7 separate regions of the Homo sapiens genome follow, and regions 1, 2, 4, 5, 6 and 7 are each linked to region 3. Evidence: promoter capture Hi-C in 16 types of primary human blood cells and fetal thymus (Javierre and others, 2016). All regions are on one chromosome and are shown on one strand. The core of a region is centred on a gene start or on the middle of the fragment in contact, and the rest is flanking DNA. Distances in the headings are between cores, read along the strand shown.

Region 1 (2,719 bases), core at 76-2,575, 910 kb before region 3:
TATGTTTATTTTTGTGATTTCTTCTCATAGTTGTAGTCCTACCTGATTACACAATTTAATTTCTTGGAAGGTTTTCCCTCTCTTCATTGAAGACAATCTTACGTAGAGCAAGTTAATTGGTGCCATTCTGCATTTCAGACAGAATTAATTTAAGTGAAAGAGAACCATATGACTTTGCAAGACTATGTGAATATCTAGAATCTGCTCTATTTGTCTAGGAGGTAGTGCAGAACTAAAGGGGTACATATGGTACTATACAGAAGCTTAAAGGTCTATCTCTTGATTTCACTGTGGAGAGGGTATGATATTTAAGAAACAAAATGGAGAAAGGGAAAAGTCTATCACCAGGCAAGTTCCTTAGAACTAAGAGATAGGTTACAGAAATAAGAGGTAGGATAATAGGTATTTACCAGTTCTCATGCTAAGAGTATTGTTGGCAGAAGAAAGAATATGATTGAGAGTAAATGGTAGGAAGTATATAATATTAACATTATTATAATCTCCATAATCATCTCTAGGGAGGAGCTTGCATTCAGACAATACTGTTTCTTAAGATTCACTACAATGGCTATTTTCCAGATAAAAAAAGTTTGACATCTTTAAATTCCGTTAGATTGAGGCAACTAGAAACAGTAAATATTCTTGAGTACATACTGCCACCCAGTGGATATATCTGTGTGATGCACAAAGCATTTGCGAACGAAGAGGACAAAGAGGTTTTGACTATGATGCTAGTGTTAAAGCTTTGCTTGCATTCAGTGAAGGCCATAGATCCTATGTAATCCCAAACTGAATTACACCACTCATTCAAAATTCTAGACTAGACTTTAATACACATTTTCAAAGTATTCTGATAAATATTACCAGAGGCTTTTGGCAATGGGAGAAAAATATTATGTGTGCTTACCAACACTATAGATACTAACTTCTTATTAATATTAATAAAACTAATGTCAGTGAATTTCCAATAAGATGAATCAGAGATACTCAACTTCTAGTAAGGAAGGAAGAGGGATGTCATAGCAGAGACTAGACAGTGGAAAAATTTGGCAAACACTGCCTCAGTCATATGATCAACAATACTAAGTCATATTGGTAGTATATACCTTGGATATGGTAATCTTGACTGCCTTGGATGCTAAGAACTCTGGCATGAAGTCTAAGAGAATTACACTTTTGGCATAATAATCTTGGATTTCCCTTTATCTGAAAGCTACTAAAGGTTTACTAGAGTGGAAATACACGCAGACAATGGATGGAATTTGGGTCATTTAAATGAATATTGAGACCATATTTATGTAGAGACTTCCTAGGGAGTCCTGGTATTCTGTAGATAAGTCCAATTATATTTGTGTTTCCTAAAAAGGAATAATACAATTTACGGAACTGAAATAACATTGAAAGTCTAAGAAAAACTACTTGTCTGAAACTTTATTTTTTGCTACGTTTATACATCATCTTCTCCAAGAAGTTTACACATCCACATGTGAACACTTCTGGATAGGAAATCTGCTAACTAATGTGTTCTCCATTGTTGGGTATGAGATTTCTTGACCTCACCATACTTACAAGTTAATAAATTAGCCTATCACTGTTTCTTAAATGTTGGCGGAAGACATGAGATAGAAGACTTCATTATTCATGCTTAGCAAGCAGCATGAACATCATATTTGAGTAAGTTCTCCTTATGTCCCATGGAGGCACCATAGAAGGGTCCAGGTATATCTCGTGCATATAGTGGATTTGTGTCTTAGGAATACTGAGCTTGGGGAATCCACTGCTTTTATAATAAGCAGAAAGTAAGGTGGCTCTTTTTCCCAAAGTGGGACCTAAACTTATCCCTTAAGGTTGCTTTCTGCAAACACAATCTTGAAAAATGGTGGCATTAAAAAAAGGTCAAAGCTTTGCATTCTTGGTATGCCCAGGAAAAAATGCTCTGGGAGGTTTAAGGCCTATTGGCAATTGTTTTTCCTAACATTCATACAAAGCCAAAATCAGCCTTCCTATAATTTCCACTAATTGGTTCTGTGTTTTCCAATCTCTTTGGTATTTTGTATGTCAGACACCTGCAGTGTGCTATGTTATGCCACTGAGATTTATTTTCTCCATGCTAATCATTTCTAATCCCTTTGAGACCATTCCTCCATGATCATATATGGCTTTGGGATCTCTCACCATTAGTATTGCTTTCCTCTGAACTTGTTTAGGTGTTACTTCCCAAAATGGACTATGATATTGCAAGTATGGACCATAAACTGTTATTTAGCTATACATTTCTATTCCACTCTTATGCCAGTGGATGGAAACTATGTAGTTTTTCATTAAAGGAATCATCATGCCAACCAGATTCCATTTAATATAACGGAAAATCTAAGAGTAAACTCCTTCTTTTAAATAGTTGTTGTTTAGCAGTTCTAGTAGAAAAGTGTTAAGTCATTACTGTCTGTATTTTGCAAATTATGGACCTCCTGTATATGAACTGTTTGTTTTCCATGTTAATATATATGGCATATGACTCCCATATTCCTTTTTGGGGGGCAGGGGAGGGGTGCAGCATCTCACTCTGTTCCCAGGCTGGAGTGCAGTGGTGCAATCATGGCTCACTACAGCCTCGACCTCCTGAACTGAAGCAATCCTCCCAGCTCAGCCTCTCAAGTAGCTGGGACTACAGGCATGTGCCACCATGCTAGGCTTTTTTTTTTTTTTTTTGTGGTAAAGT
Region 2 (2,700 bases), core at 145-2,644, 620 kb after region 3:
CTTTCATGGGTGTAAAAATAAAATTATGGTGGTAAAGCTCATGGGGTCATCCCATCTACTAAGAATCTGAAAGACTGATGGGTCATGCTTTGTGGCCCAAAACCACAATCTAGTCTGATGGTTCCATTGCCTCTGCCATCTGATATGATATCACACGGAGGGAAGAGGCAGAGCCTAGGAATAAGGCAGCCTGGAGCCAGATTATGGAGGGCTCCATGCCAAAAATACTAAATATAGATTATTTCTGGACTCATAAACTTCCCATGCCAAGAAGTCATTTTCTCTGATGTTTGTGGGGGAAGCATGGACATGGTATTGAAGACACCAGTGATTTAGTTAAATCACAGGAAACTCCTATAATCCCTGTGCTACTAGAATTCCCAGCAATACGTTTATGTAAGTAACTATAACATGAGATAATAAAAAGCTACCTAGAGAGAAGAAGAAGAAGCCCAAAACTCTTCAAGTCTCTTTAGAAGCAAAGGAAGTACTTTTCTGATGCAAAGCTTCGTAGCAGATATAGTAACACTTTCCGTTTCCACTTTCTGAATTACTCATCTCACTATTTACCATCCCAGAGTTACCAAGGGTAACAGTGAGACAAAAATGTACCCCCACTGGGACTAAAAAGGAAGTCTGGGTTGTATTTCACACCTGCTCCCTCTCCTTCAGCTCTGCATTGGGTGACAGATGCAAAACTCCTTCAGATTTGACTAAAGGTAACCCACACTCCTGGAGTTTGAGTGAATACCCACAAGCCACAGGCTAAATATGTCAGAGGGAGTTTTATAGGGGTTCCCACAGCTTCCCCATTTCCTTCCAGCTAAGTAACATGGTGCCCAGGGTTCTTTTGGTGCAGTGCAGCTTGGAGATTTGATATACGCAAAGGGGTGCATCTGTTTCCAGAAGGGCATAGTTAGCTGCCATTGGCCATCATGCTCGACACAAACTACTCCGCGTTCACATCATCACAATTTACATTATCTTCTATATCATTTTCTGTGACACATTAAATTCCCCATGCAAAAGCCATTTTCCTATCTCTTTCCTTTGCTAGAAAAAGAAGTCAATAATGACCACATTGCTTAGTGCTTACAATAGTTTTATTGCTTTTGTACTAGGTTATGATAGACACTGCACAGACATTTTAATTCCATTTAACAAAAATAAAACAGAAATACAACTTTCAAAATGAAATTGAGTACTGGCTAGGCACAGTGACTCACGTGTGTAATCCCAACTCTTTGGGAGGTCAAGAGCAGGGAGTTCAAAACCGGCTTGGGCAACATAGTAAGACCCAATTTCTACAAAAATAGAAAATTAGCTTGGCATGGTGGCATGCTCCTACAGTCCTAGCTACTCAGGAGACTAAGGCAGGAGGATTCATTGAGCACAGATGTTCGAGGCTGCAGTGAGCAAGGATGGGACGTACTGTATTCCAGCCTGGGCAACAGAGCTAGACCCTGTCTCAAGAAAGAAAGACAAAGGGGGTGGGGGGAGGAAGGAAGGAGGGGAAGGAAGGAAAAAAGGAAGGAGGGAAGGAAGGGAGGGAGGGAGGGAACCAAGTACCAGTGCTGAGGACATGTAATATACTAAAAGAGCCTATAATGTGAATTTGAACTTTGTCTGCCACCTTGAAAAAGAGTAATAGAGAAGTCTTTTTTTTTTTTTTAACATATGCTGTGTCTCACAAGCCCTTCATCCAATGGGAAAACAGCAAGTGTGGAAAATTTAGAACACATCTAGTATTAGGGCATAGCCCAAGTTGCTGTAGCAAAGTTACACAAAACACAGTGCCTCAAGCAGAATGGAAAAATATTTCCTTTTAACAGAGGAGCACATAGGTTGTGGGTAAGGCAAGGCCAAGAAGCTGACTCTGCTCCATGAGGTCCTCCAGGGACCCAGGATCATCTTCTGTTTTTAAAAAAAATTAAATCTAATTTCTATAGAGCCAAATACACTTTTCCAAGTGTTTCCACTTGTTGCCCTAGCAACATTCCCTAGAATGTTGCTCTTATCTGCAGCACCTCCTCTTTATTCTGCCCCAAAGGAAGGGTAAAAGAGAGTACAGAGCAATCAGTTTCTTTTTAAAGGGTATTAGCAAGAAGTTGCAACTCACATCCCATTGGCCAGAATTTAATCACATATCTAGCTTAAGTTACCCCAGGAAAAGGAGTTTGTGTGCCCAATTAGAACTTGGAAGATTATAATACAAAAAGGATAAAGGGGGAAATGAATACGATTACTATATGCCACAACATCAAAATCTTTACAAAGCTTGGGGATTGGATTCTTTTCTAATATCTTTCAACAAATGAGAATATAGTACTGGAACGCAATTTGCAAACAACACAGCAAAAGTTTCATGCAATGATAGTCACTTCTGGCATCTTTGTTGTTAATTTTTGTCTATTACTTCGTTCCACTTTTTTGCAAAGATTGGAATCAATTAAAAGCATGAAATTGTCTGTCAAATCTGAGAGACTGATCCCAGATAGTATCTTTGTTATTTCCCTTTAGCACAATCCAAAATTTATTTTCAATGACTCTGGCAATCATAAAATGAAGAAGTCTGTGAAGCAAGAACACTCCAGCCCAAAGCATTTCTGCAGTGTTTGGCAAGGGTCTACAATTCAAGGTTATCTGGTGACCACATCAAATACCTTGTGCTGTTTTTGAACCATATATTTCCTATACTAT
Region 3 (2,708 bases), core at 166-2,665:
GGCCTCCAAAAGTACTGGAATTACAGGAGTGAGCCACCGTGCCTGGCCATAAATCTGTTTTAACGCACCCTCCTCCAAGTGGTTCTGATGCTTACTGAAATTTGTGAAACTCTGGCCTACTCTACAAAACCCTAATGTCTTAGGATGGCATAGAAATCCTGACTGACTTTCCTACCATGTTCCTTGTCATTATTTTCTCCTCTCCTGTCCCACCCTGGCCCACCCTTCAATTTCATTCTTTCATTAGCTATCAAACCTGTATGTGTCTTTTTGTTCTAAGCACCAATAATATAAGGAAGACAGTCCAGCTCCTAACTGTCTTGCTGACCTAGGACTGGGGTGCTCCAGCCACATGACAACCCCTGGAATTAAGTACACACCATGTCATTTTAAGTGACAAGCCTCTGCCATAGCATCTCCTTCTTCTTGGTGAATTCCTATGTCTTTGGTGGCTCATTCTCAAATGTCCCTGTTCCTGAATTACTCAGAGGGCTAATCCCCAGTTTCTCTGTGCCTCCACAGCTGCCTGTCATTTCATTTATCCCAAAGTGGCATTCCCATTTGTTTACCTGTCTACTAGGATACTCCTAGAATGCAGGTAGCATGAGGGAAGAGCCTTCACTCATCTTTGTGTAGACGGCATTGTGACCCTGGTGACCAACCCTGGCACACATCAGAATCATCTGGGAGCTTTTCAAAAATATGAATGCCAGAGCTCACCCCTGAACCTACAGGAACTGAGCCTTACACATCCATATTTTAAAATGTCCCCACATCACCGTTGCACACTGTTCTGCACAGAGCAGGTATTTTTAATAGTTCTCGAATGTCTAGTCAATTACTTAGCAAGGCTGCCTGGAGAATCATGTCTACCTTAGCTTACTTCTCCGGCTTTGTAGGTTTTTGTTTTCTTTTGATTTCAGTTTCCATTTCCTCTAACTTGAAAGTATGTGCATTGGTAACAGCCACACAGCAGTCATTACTGATAAAAGGCGACATTTTGTTGAGATGATTTTAGTTATTGACCTAATCTCTGGTATTTTAAGGTTAATATATTTTTTACAGTCTCAAATATCCAGCGGTAACCTCAAATTAGAGTTGCCTGTTAAACAGTTTCTCAAGTATCTTTCAGGATTGTAGTCACTCTGCGGGCTAATCGCTCACCAGGTGTCCGTGGCTGATCCCAGTTATTCTGATTAACCTCTAAGGTGATTGTGAGACTTTAAACCGTCTCACCTGTAGCCGACCAAGCCAGCTCAAGTCAACATCCTGGGCTGTTAACCCGCGATAAGGTCGGACGGGGCCTCAGTGGAGAATACGTGGGGAAGTTCTCTGGGGCGGGCGCAGTCTGCTGCTGATTCTGAGAAACCGAAACTCAGCTGTTAAAACCGCTGCCTCTGCACTTTGGAATCCCATCTTGAGACTCGCTAAGCGTCCCAGCCGCATCCCTCCCGCAGCGACGGCGGCCCGGGACCCGCGGGCTGTGAACCATGAACACCCGCAATAGAGTGGTGAACTCCGGGCTCGGCGCCTCCCCTGCCTCCCGCCCGACCCGGGATCCCCAGGACCCTTCTGGGCGGCAAGGGGAGCTGAGCCCCGTGGAAGACCAGAGAGAGGGTTTGGAGGCAGCCCCTAAGGGCCCTTCGCGGGAGAGCGTCGTGCACGCGGGCCAGAGGCGGTGAGTATTTTAACAACCTGGCTTCGGGGCGGGAGCCCGGGCCCCAAACATACTCACTCACAAGCACCTTGGTCCTTGGAGTTTAAAACCACAGGGGCCCAACAACAGGGATTTTGACTGAATGAAAGCTCATTTGCTTAAATGAAAGTATCCATGCCGCACCTTATAAATTGAGTCGGCTAGTTTGCAGTCCTTTGGTAAATAACCAGCCCGGTTCCTTCCAGGAATACTACTTTCCTGATTTTTGTGACTGGCTACAGGATTGAAAGATATGGGTGTGTCGGAACTGCCTAGGCATCCAGTAAGATGTCATTTTCCAGGTATCTCCAGAACTCATACTCCAACCAGTATGGAAATAACTTTTCCCTTACTGTTTTTAAAAATTTGGTGCTGGGCCAGGCGCGTTGGCTCAAGCCTGTTATCCCAGCACTTTGGGAGGCCAAGGCAGGCAGATCACCTGAGGTCAGGAGTTCGAAACCAGCCTGGCCAACATGGTGAAACCCAGTCTTTACTAAAAATAAAAAATAAGCTGGGTGTGATGGCACGTGCCTGTAGTCCCAGCTACCTGGGAGGCTGAGGTAGGAGAATCGCTTGAACCCGGGAGGCGGAGGTTGCAGTGAGCGGAAATTGCGCCATTGCACTCCAGCCTGGGCAACAGAGCGAGACTGTCTCAAAACAAAACAAAACAGAAAAACAAAACTTGGTGTCCTAAACGGAATTACTGTATCAGACACTAACAGGTAAGGGTCAACAAGAAATGTGATATGGGGTAGAAGGTTCAAATTCTGCCTCTAGGTAGGAGCAAGCCTACGTCCCAGCAAGACTCGCAGATAAACTAGCCTCTTACAACCAGAGGAGTGGAGCTGAGAGAGTGAGGAGGTGAGTGACCATAGTACCTCTCATCCCTGATGTTGATATGTGCTCTATGCAGGAACAGATAGGTAGCTTTTATTCCTGGTCTTTGGTTCAGGGACTGCAGTGAGTATCCGGGAAACATTTATTAAGCAAGTGTCATGAGCCTCTCTTTCTA
Region 4 (2,700 bases), core at 41-2,540, 840 kb before region 3:
TAAAGTTATAACATCATGTAACTCTTAAGAGTATTACTCACTATAGACTAACATATTTTTTCTCACTGAAAGGCAAAATGTCAATAAATCAAATGTTAACTTGTCCCTTTCAAGATAAACGTGCTCCTCCTTTTCATGGTTCCATTGAGTCAAATACTTAGAAACAAAAACAAATAGGAAGATATGGTTTTAAAATATTCATTTGTAGGATTAAATAATTTCAAACAGCATCAAAAAATATTTAAAATCCATTTTCTCCTTACCTTTCTATGTGCTAAAATTCAGTAAGTGGAGCTGATATAAAACCTGATATTAATAATCTTATTATGTCTAACAGTAATAGTTTTATTGTGGCTTAGCATGGCTTAATGTGGCTTACACTTCAAACAGCTTATCCTGTAACACAATCAGCTTTGGTCCATGACTCAGAAACAAAGCTACAGTGAAAATGGTGAAACCTACAGATTGTGGGGAGTACACACTATACTCGGCTGGAGATAAGCCAGAACCAAATGCTGATTATATAAGTATATTTTAATGTAACTTGCATATTAAAAAGTTATTATATTTTCTAAGTGTAGTTATCGCTTATAAAAAATTATAGTTTTCTAAAGTGTTTTAAAGTTTATATTGAGATTCAAAATATTTGTAAATGATAACACCTTGAGTTATAGATTCAAAAACTTGTTTTTAAATTCAGATATGAAGAAAATAGCTGTAATCTGCTTAAGATAATGTGCTCTATTTTTAAAAGTAAGTTTTAATGTAGTTTTCTAAAATATCCTTAATACATATACCTATTTTACATTTTATGACAGTCAAAAATTCTTTGAAAAAGAAACTTTTTCTCCTTGTTCTTTCTTTTTTTATTATACTTTAATTTTTAGGGTACATGTGCACAATGTGCAGGTTTGTTACACATGTATACATGTGCCATGTTGGTGTGCTGCACCCATTAACTCATCATTTAGTATTAGGTATATCTCCTAATACTATCCCTCCCCACTCTCCCCACCCCACAACAGGCCCCAGTGTGTGATGTTCCCCTTCCTGTGTCCATGTGTTCTCATTGTTCAATTCCCACCTAGGAGTGAGAACACGCGGTGTTTGGTTTTTTGTCCTTGCAATAGTTTGCTGAGAATGATGGCTTCCAGCTTCATCCATGTCCCTACAAAGGACATGAACTCATCATTTTTTATGGCTGCATAGTATTCCATGGTGTATATGTGCCACATTTTCTTAATCCAGTCTATCATTGTTGGACATTTGGGTTGGTTCCAAGTCTTTGCTATTGTGAATAGTGCCGCAATAAACATACGTGTGCATGTGTCTTTATAGCAGCATGTTTTATAATCCTTTGGGTATATACCCAGTAATGGGATGGCTGGGTCAAATGATATTTCTAGTTCTAGATCCCTGAGGAATCGCCACACTGACTTCCACAATGGTTGAACTAGTTTACAGTCCCACCAACAGTGTAAAAGTGTTCCTATTTCTCCACATCCTCTCCAGCACCTGTTGCTTCCTGACTTTTTAATGATTGCCATTCTAACTGGTGTGAGATGGTATCTCATTGTGGTTTTGATTTGCATTTCTCTGATGGCCAGTGATGATGAGCATTTTTTCATGTATCTTTTGGCTGCATAAATGTCTTCTTTTGAGAAGTGTCTGTTCATATCCTTTGCCCACTTTTCAATGGGGTTGTTTGTTTTTTTCTTATAAATTTGTTGGGGTTCATTGTAGATTCTGGATATTAGCCCTTTGTCAGATGAGTAGATTGCAAAAATTTTCTCCCATTCTGTAGGTTGCCTGTTCACTCTGATGGTGGTTTATTTTGCTGTGCAGAAGCTCTTTAGTTTAATTAGATCCCATTTGTCAATTTTGGCTTTTGTTGCCATTGCTTTTGGTGTTTTAGACATGAAGTCCTTGCCCATGCCTATGTCCTGAATGGTATTGCCCAGGTTTTCTTCTAGGGTTTTTATGGTTTTAGATCTAATGTTTAAGTCTTTAATCCATCTTGAATTAGTTTTTGTATAAGGTGTAAGGATGGGATCCAGTTTCAGCTTTCTACATATGGCTAGGCAGTTTTCCCAGCACCATTTATTAAATAGGGAATCCTTTCCTCATTTCTTGTTTTTGCCAGGTTTGTCAAAGATCAGATAGTTGTAGATATGCGGCATTATTTCTGAGGGCTCTGTTCTGTTCCATTGGTCTATATCTCTGTTCTTTCTTATCTTGGAAACTATTTCAGATAATAGAGAATTTCAGATTAATTAAGAACTAAAATTTGAGGTATCCAAAGCCTGATGATTTAGTGGATATGATATTTCAACACAATCATAAACTCTAATATTAGAAAATTGAAGTTATTTTTAATTTTAGTTCTGTATAATTGAACCTAGCTTAGAATATGAGCTCTTTTGCTTAGTGGCGTTTCACACACATGCTTCTGTTTTAAAGCTCAGTCTCTTTGAGGTAAATATTCAGTTCAAAATTCTCCTCTTCTTCGTTTTTTTTCTGCATGGAAGTGTTCTAAGTACCTGGTGGACTTGTTGTGTCATCAGGGACACTGCTCTGCACCAAATGTCATTTTCTGATCTCACTGGCCTCTGCAGAGATCTAATAATCCATTCTTCCTGGTGCTTAGGATCATCGTGAGTCTGTGCTATACCTGCAATTGTTTAGTCAATGCGGTCAGCT
Region 5 (2,700 bases), core at 135-2,634, 800 kb before region 3:
CGGAGCTTGCAGTGAGCCGAGATTGCGCCACTGCAGTCCGCAGTCCGGCCTGGGCGACAGAGCGAGACTCCGTCTCAAAAAAAAAAAAAAAAAAAAAAGGACTTGCTGAGCAAAGAGCCTATCTTGGAAAGAAGGTGTAGGAAAGGAAAAGAAACACATTTGAGCCTTTTTGTGAAAGTGTTTTAACTGTTTGTTTCTAAAATGGTAACATTAAAAATGGCTGAATCTTGACTTGGATGACTTTTTTTTTTTTTTTTTTTTGAGATAGAGTCTTGCTGTCCCCCAGGCTGAAGTGTAATGGCTTGATCTTGGCTCACTGCAACCTCTGCCTCTCGGGTTCAAGCGATTCTCCTGCCTCAGCCTCCCCAGTAGCTGGGATTACAGGCACATGCCACCATGCCCAGCTAATTTTTTGTATTTTTCGTAGAGACAGGGGTTTCACCATGTTGGTCAGGCTGTTCTCGAACTCCTGACCTCAAGTGATCCGCCTGCCTCGGCCTCCCAAAGTGCTGGGATTACAGACGTGAGCCACCGTGCCTGGCCAACCTGAATGACTTTTAAGTAGAACAAATATATGCAAAGAAAATGTCTGGAAGGGTATACACCAAAATAGTAATCGTACTTGGTCCCTGAGAGGCAATACTACTTACTGCATTTTTTTTTTTTTTTTTGGAAACAGAGTTTCGCTGTGTTGCTTAGGCTGGAGTGCAGTGGCACGATCTCAGCTCATTGCAACCTCCGCCTCCCAGGTGCAAGCGATTCTCCTGCCCCAGCCTCCCAGGTAGCTGAGATTGCAGGCGCCCACCATCACACCTGGCTAATTTTTTATGTTTTTAGTAGAGACAGGGTTTTGCCATATTGCCCACGCTGGTCTCGAACTCCTGAGCTCAGGCAATCCACTCTCCATAGCCTCCCAAAGTGCTAGGATTACAGGCGTGAGCCACCGCGCCTGGCCAATCTTTTTCTTTATACATTTTTGTATTGCCTATTTTTTCTCCGTAAGCACACACACTACTTTTACAATTGGGATGTGGTGGGGAAGAGAGGACAGTGAACTATTTTTGTTTAAAAGAGAGACATTTTCACAGTTGGTATTAATCTATAAAATGAATGTTCGCATAGTTAAATTAGCAGGGCAAAGCACCATTGGGGAGGCAGAATATGTGTGACAGAAACAAAACAGAGACTAATTAAAAACAAATGAACACAAAGCTTGGGTTTTGTAACAGCAGCAGAATTTATAGAATTACAGCACCTCTAGAATTATGGAATCCACAATTTCCTGCATGTGTCAGTTTCTGCCAACTTTTGGTTGTCTGTGGTTTTCTTAAAATATCCTTGGAAGGGACTCCCAGGAAATCAGCTCAGTTCAACATTATAATAAAGATTTAAAATTTCTACAGGAGCTTCCTATTCATGACTGTGTTCCAATTTTCTGCCACACACTTTTGATTTAGATCCAAGGTCTACAAAGATTTACTGAATTCCTACAACACAACAAAGGGACTCTTTCTCATGTTACTTAATGTAACTTAATGTTACTTGATGTAAGCTTCTTAAGAAACTGATGAGGTAGGTGTTATTATCCACATTTCCCAGACGGGGGCAAGTGAAGCTCGGAAAGTGTGGTGCACAATCTCACACAGCAAGTTGTTGCCTGGGCTGGGATTTGAACTCAGATCTTATGATTCAGTATCCTGTGTTATTTTAATGCTGTGCTAAGACCACCTCTTGAAAAATCAAAAGATAGCACTAACAGTCCTAGCTTCCCCACATGAAGCCTCTGGGGCCCATCGGGAGGCAGGTTATATAAAGCATTCAATACATGGATGGTTGGGCTTCAAACAGCTCTAATTAAGTAAATGGCTTTATGTCAATTCACTCTATAAGAGCTTTTTAACTCTTCATAATTGTGTCAGGAATTGAGTGAAGAAGTTGTGTTTTTAAAAACTACATTAAAAATAATTCTGTGTTAATAAGTGGAAAGAAATTGAGAAAGTGAAAATTTTAAAAATTGTAAGGAGAGTAATAATAAAATGTTAAAATTATACAAGAAGAGACTTCTGGGTTTTTGTAGACATAGAAATTTCAAAATACTGTTCATGGGTTGCCCTATAAATTCTTGGATGGGTTAAATATAAGCTCTAGCATATTCTAACTTATTCCAGTCTGCCCAGTGATCCCAGGGAAAGGTAATCCACAGCTGCCATTGCCCACATGGTCTATCTCTCCTTGTCAACTTCTTCATATCCTCAATCTAAAATTCATGCTACAGCAATAGACTAGCTTTTTACATTATATATGGTGTGATCATCTAAATGATTGCTACTAGGGAATATGAATATGAAAATATGCATATATACATTGGCCACTGATAATCAATTATTACCCAAGTGGTTTATTTATTTAACAAATAGCTTTATTAAGTCCTACTGGTAATTCAAATTGAAGTTTGTTGCACCTGGTCAAGTGATAAATTACGCTTATGTTCACTTTTTTTGTCCTCAAGAATAATGATTACTACACTATAGGCTCCCTAAAGGAATAGATAGATCGTATTTTATACTTTATTGGTAACAAACACAGCTTGAAGAACAGAACTGATTATGAAGTAGGTACTCAATAAATACTTGTTCAGTTTACTGATTTGCTTATGCATCTTCTTGGTGTTGACAATCAAATAAATTATTAGATTAAAAA
Region 6 (2,700 bases), core at 40-2,539, 870 kb before region 3:
ACTGTAAAAGAATCTATCATTGAAAAAACTTGTTTTCTTGAGGAAGAAAAAAAGACACATGAAAAATTAAGAAAAGAAATAGAGGTAAGTCTTAATTATCTAGATTTCAATGTTTTATGGGACCATTTTTAAAACTTAACACTATATTCATATTTCCATAGTTTACTCTCAATACTCAAAACAGTTGAAGAACAAGAAAGAACTATAAAATTTAGTAAATACAAATCATTAATAGATAACTAGAGATAACCCCCTCATTCAAAGATGTTCAAATATGTGAATGTGTTCAAACAATGCAAGCATTCACTCCTATTTAAATCTGGGCGAGGGTTCTTCCAGGTTTTTCTCATTCCACTAAGAACATGATACCCAATTAATGGCTAGAAAGCAGCTATGTAGTCAAAGAGGATGCCCATTCTTAGATATCAAAGACTCCTCAAAATAGAATAAAACACAATGGAAAGCATCGTCTTTCCAAACCTCTCTGACTTCATATTCGCAATTATCAAGAGTCAAGTTAAAAAAACAAACTGAAAATATGCAAAATTGAAAGTCAGAGTAAATTCATAATGTGTTGTGGTGCTGCCTGTGGACTTCTATTGTCATTATTGTTTGGATGAATGGTGAACAGAAATGTAAAATAATATGCTATTAAGGGCAAATAATTTTTGCCTGAATACATTAATTTGGAAAATAAAAATATGCATGTTTCAACTTGTTTTTGACTAATTTGACACAATACAAAGCATCTGAGGAAATTAAAGATAAAAATCCTCATCTTTACATATTCGCTATTAAAAAATATCACGATTTTACCTTTTAGTTTACTAGGAATCTAAATAACGATTCTTTTTGCCCTTGTAGACATTAAGGTTCATTATAAAACAATAAATAGTAAGACAGTGTATCAGTGGTAAAAGAGTAGAAAAAAATATTATTATTATTATTTTTTCTTTATTTTTGAGACGGAGTCTTGCTCTGTCACCCAGACTGGAGTACAGTGGTGCGATCTCAGCTCACTGCCGCCTCGGCCTCCCGGGTTCCAGCGATTTTCCCATCTCAGCCTCCCAGATAACTGGGATTACAGGCACGTACCACAATGCCCAGCTAATTTTTGTATTTTTAGTAGAGATGGGGTTTCACCATGTTGGCCAGGCTGGTCTCAAACTCCTGACCTCAGGTGATCCGCCTGCCTCGGCCTCCCAAAGTGCTGGGATTACAGGCGTGAGCCACCACACCCGGCCAGAAAAAAATTATTAATGAAAAAAAGAATCCAGAAATTATGCATCCTTGAGTGGTAAAAACAAAATAGATTACCTCTATGGAAAAATAAAGAAAAATGTTGAAATAAAACTGGATTCCTACCTCATAATACACACGTGCACACACACACACACACACACACACACACACACTTCTAAGTATTGAATACAACATAGGATAAAAACTTAAAAATTTGTGTCAGAAAAGCATTTATTTTAAAAGAGAAAAACACTCCATAAATTCTGTGGTTAAATATCTTTAGTTTTGACTATGCCATAAATTTCCAGATTATGGGAATATACCATCACAAGAGAAAGAACAAGACTCCATTCTAGATTATTATAACACATGTATGTGATAAGAAAGAGATAAGAAAATGTCAAATCAGTGAAACATTGGGCAAATGGTATAAAAAGACCATTTTTCTGAACCATGAATATCAGAAATAAAGAAAAATATGACCATCCTCATTAGCAATAAGAGACTGATAATTAAAACCACAGCAAAGTTCCATGTTTAGCCCATCTGATTATCGGTATTACAGTTGGGAGATGTTGAGCGTGGGAATTTTAATACAGTATTCTTGTGAATGTAAATTGCTAAAAGCACTTTGGAAAGAAATGTGAAATTACCTTTTAATTTTTTTACAGTAACATATTTTATTGAGGTATAATTGTCATAAGAGTAAGTACACAAATTATAAATGGATGGCTTGATTTATTTAGACTAACATGTACATATATTTATGTTGGCATTACCTAGATCAAGATATAGAACTTTCCCAGCATGTCCAGAAAGTTCTCTTCTACCCTTTTTATCAAATAGCCACTATTCTGATTTTTATAAACAGCTTTACTAAGATAAAATTCACATACCATACAGTTCACCGATTTTTGTCAGATATCCTGCAACAAAGTTTTATACATGAAAACAAATTATTGAGAGATTTTTTCTTTTCTTTTTTTTTTTTTTGAGACAGAGTCTCGCCCCATCGCCCAGGCTAGAGTGCAGTAGTGCAATCTCGGCTCACTGCAAGCTCTGCCTCCCAGGTTCACGCCATTCTCCTGCCTCAGCCTCCGGAGTAGCTGGGACTACAGGCGCCTGCCACCACACCCAGCTAATTTTTTGCATTTTTAGTAGAGACGGGGTTTCACCATGTTAGCCAGGATGGTCTTGATCTCCTGACCTCATGATCCACCCGCCTCGGCCTCCCAAAGTGTTGGGATTACAGGCGTGAGCCACCGCGCCCAGCCTTAATTTAACTTTTAAGTTCAGGGGTATGTATGCAGGTTTGTTATATAGGTAAATTTCTGTCATAGTTTGTTGTACAGATTATTTCAATAGCCAGGTATTAAGCCTAGTACCCATTAGTTATTTTTCCTGATCCTTTCCCTCCTCTCACCCTCCAGTGTGTGTTGTTTCCCTCTATGTGTCCAT
Region 7 (2,716 bases), core at 129-2,628, 820 kb before region 3:
AATCCCATCCCAAGGTGAAGCATTTCCACAGACACTCTAAACTGTGAATCTAACTGCACTAGTTGCTTTCTTGTGACTAGATTTAGCCTAGAACCTAAGTGCAAGCTCACCCCCTTACAGGTGGAATTTGAGGCCTTAGGTGTGAGAAATAGAAGGATAATATGCCTCAAACCAAAAGAGTAGAAAAAGGGAAATTACATGTTTATTGCACTTTTGAGAAATGAGATAGTAAATGAAAGGCTAGAAATACAATAATTTAAGAGGGGGATTTTCTAGAGCTTGGGCAATAGGACTGTTGCAGAGCTCATGAAAAGGGTGACACTGAAGATGCAAGAAAATAGAAGGTAATTCATGCAGTAGTCCTGGAAAGCCAGGAGGGGACAGGATCCATACAGAGAGGAAGGCATAGCCTTGGGAAGAAAGAGCATTCCTGAGACAGGATGAGAAAAATAAGAGAACGATCAAAGGCAAAAGAAAATTTTAAAGTGAGGAGGAAGGAAATCAAAGGAGCTCTTGTTTAGATAGAGGGTGAGGATAACAGCTAAGGGTAAAAGCACAGAGCTAGTGCAATTGAGAATGAAATGATGTGAACAGACATAAAGCTACTGGGAAAAAAGGGATTGACATTAATGATCTAAGTAATGCAGATCAGAGTAAATCCATGGTGAGCCCACTGAGCTCAGCTTTGCCATGGTTGTCCAGCAATGTTCTGTTGTCCAGGATTAGGAGGCACTGCAAAAGAATGGTTGGCAATTGAATTAATACATTCAATATGTCAAATGCATTTTAATTTTTCTTTTTTTCTTCTTTCCTCCCTCCCTCTCTCCTTCCCTCCCTCATGCTTTCCTTCCTTTCTTCCTTTATTTGATTTTACTTGTAACTGACTTGAAACTCAAACTTTTCTTTTTTAATGAGTTTGGATTTTTACCACAGGGTCATCATGTTAAACAGTTATTCTCTCAATATGGTAGTAGAGTTGTAAACATAGAAGTTATAAAAGGTAACATACCTGGGAAGTAGCTTGCTTACTTTGTTGGCTTATTTTAAAACCAAATTCAACATCTCAGGTTACAAGTGCAGTATTAATATTTATTGAACACCTAAGAAGTGCTAGACATTTTCTAGGGCACCATACAAACATGTAACTTGATTTAAGAAAGTATTCCAATTGGTATGATTCTGGACCATTTATTCAACAAGTGTACATCTACTAAGGGAATCTCTGCAACATAATGTGCAAGGCATGGTCCTCTCCTTCCTGCCACTAATACCTGAAGCAGATGAAACAGTTCAGCAGCACTGAAAGAGTTAATATAATGAAATACCAAATATGTTTCACAAATTTTCAAGGAGTGAACAAGATGAGCTATCTTTGAGACGATGGGCAGGATATGGATGAAATAGAAAGGAAAGGCTGGGATATTTCAAACCATAGCCTTTGCGTGCTGGAACAACCACGAAACTGAGCACGGGGGTCTAACTATCATGGAGAAGGAATAAAAGAGAATCTTTGAGTCCAAGCTGTATGGAGACTCAGAGGCTGGGTGGGAGTCGGGAAGCAGGGAAACATGTCTCTGAGGATCTACACCATTGGTTCATGTGCTACTCCCTGCGTTGGTTTAGACATGAAATCATAACTATGGCAGGATTCTTTATAAAGTGTCCTATGAATATTATTATTTATAATCATTCCATCATTATAATGCTTTTCAGAACATGAAGTCTTTAAGAATCAGTGTTGTCTGTAATCATTAAAGTAAGTCCCTCTCCAAAGCAATCCTTAGCTGACCAACCCATTAGTCCAAGTTAAACTGGAAACTACTGACTCTGGAGTAAGCCATAAGGCCTTTAAGAGACCTGCAATTATTTCTTTTTTAGCCTGTGAATATGCTAAATAAATATGAAGAAGTGGCAATTTAATTTTTAAAATTTTTCTCTTAAAGGCAGACACTAAGTTGAGATGTTTCTATTGTTTATAGGTATAAATGCTACTAATGGGTTGATGCCATTTTAACATGCCTCTTGAAAGTGAAAAGAAATGGCCTGGTAATTTTTTGTTTTGACAAGTGCTTGAACAAAACCTATCATAATATATCTTATAACCCTCAAAGCTATGGCAGGTCATATGTAAGACCAGACTGACCCTGAATCAGAAAGCCCCCGGACAGTTGGGTGGGTTGTAAGGGATCTCAGGAGACGACTTAGTCCAGATCTACTCACCCCTCCCAAATCCCCTGCTCTTCACACAAAGAGGCTGAATAGTAGCCTGGTCCTGGCTGCCACACTCCTGACCTACACCTCCCAACATACCTAACACTTTGACAGATTCACTCATTCATATAACAAGAACGTACCTGTGGAGAAGAAATTCAGATCCACAGTGAAAAGACAGACATAGTTTCGGCAGTCATGGAGCTTCCAGTTGAGCATGGAAGGCAGATATGTAAGAGCTATTAGGCTAATTATTTAATTATAAATATGGTGAGTTCTCTGCTTCCCCTCTTACACAGCCCACATAAAGCACAGGGAAGAAGGCAAGCATATGCTGTATAAAATATGCTGTGATTCATTTAAGTTACATTCATGTTCTGTGTCCAACAGCAAAACCCAATCAGCTCAAGATTGACTAAGTTCCATTAGAAATCAAAGCAGAACAGCATATGGCTTTGATATATAATTTATATTTTTTCCTCACCATTTTATTTGTCCTTTGCCC

The links. The method cuts DNA at HindIII sites, captures the fragments that hold promoters and counts their contacts. A CHiCAGO score of 5 or more calls a contact.
Region 1: a fragment that was not itself captured here is called in contact with the fragment with the promoter of EPSTI1 in region 3 in 1 of 17 cell types (monocytes); the score reaches 5.9 in monocytes.
Region 2: a fragment that was not itself captured here is called in contact with the fragment with the promoter of EPSTI1 in region 3 in 1 of 17 cell types (total B cells); the score reaches 5.5 in total B cells.
Region 4: a contact is called between a fragment that was not itself captured here and the fragment with the promoter of EPSTI1 in region 3, in 3 of 17 cell types (M1 macrophages, M2 macrophages and monocytes). The highest score is 7.0, in M1 macrophages.
Region 5: a contact is called between a fragment that was not itself captured here and the fragment with the promoter of EPSTI1 in region 3, in 4 of 17 cell types (endothelial precursors, M1 macrophages, M2 macrophages and 1 more). The highest score is 9.1, in endothelial precursors.
Region 6: a fragment that was not itself captured here is called in contact with the fragment with the promoter of EPSTI1 in region 3 in 1 of 17 cell types (monocytes); the score reaches 5.2 in monocytes.
Region 7: a contact is called between a fragment that was not itself captured here and the fragment with the promoter of EPSTI1 in region 3, in 4 of 17 cell types (M1 macrophages, M2 macrophages, fetal thymus and 1 more). The highest score is 9.3, in M1 macrophages.

The regions. Positions count from the first base shown.
Region 1 is chr13:43,903,576-43,906,294 of GRCh38, reverse strand. No RefSeq gene overlaps it. Among named protein-coding and RNA genes, the nearest start is that of LACC1, 25 kb to the right of the region's middle. The HindIII fragment of the contact is 1,159 bases long and covers 746-1,904 here.
Region 2 is chr13:42,375,820-42,378,519 of GRCh38, reverse strand. No RefSeq gene overlaps it. Among named protein-coding and RNA genes, the nearest start is that of LINC02341, 48 kb to the left of the region's middle. RefSeq lists an enhancer at 432-511. The HindIII fragment of the contact is 1,771 bases long and covers 509-2,279 here.
Region 3 is chr13:42,990,948-42,993,655 of GRCh38, reverse strand. It overlaps EPSTI1 (epithelial stromal interaction 1), which reads left to right and starts at 1,415. Exons shown (of 11, transcript NM_033255.5): 1 at 1,415-1,678. The coding sequence starts at 1,491. RefSeq lists enhancers at 782-1,021, 1,282-1,401. The HindIII fragment of the contact is 6,494 bases long and covers 1-2,708 here.
Region 4 is chr13:43,833,629-43,836,328 of GRCh38, reverse strand. It overlaps a transcript of CCDC122 not described here. Among named protein-coding and RNA genes, the nearest start is that of CCDC122, 45 kb to the left of the region's middle. The HindIII fragment of the contact is 4,663 bases long and covers 1-2,700 here.
Region 5 is chr13:43,791,399-43,794,098 of GRCh38, reverse strand. No RefSeq gene overlaps it. Among named protein-coding and RNA genes, the nearest start is that of ENOX1, 5.8 kb to the right of the region's middle. The HindIII fragment of the contact is 340 bases long and covers 1,215-1,554 here.
Region 6 is chr13:43,856,165-43,858,864 of GRCh38, reverse strand. CCDC122 (coiled-coil domain containing 122) reads left to right here. Exons shown (of 7, transcript NM_144974.5): 6 at 1-84. Among named protein-coding and RNA genes, the nearest start is that of CCDC122, 22 kb to the left of the region's middle. The HindIII fragment of the contact is 4,662 bases long and covers 1-2,700 here.
Region 7 is chr13:43,812,281-43,814,996 of GRCh38, reverse strand. LOC124903166 (a long non-coding RNA gene) reads right to left here. Exons shown (of 3, transcript XR_007063773.1): 2 at 2,355-2,415; 3 at 181-732. Among named protein-coding and RNA genes, the nearest start is that of ENOX1, 27 kb to the right of the region's middle. The HindIII fragment of the contact is 3,770 bases long and covers 1-2,716 here.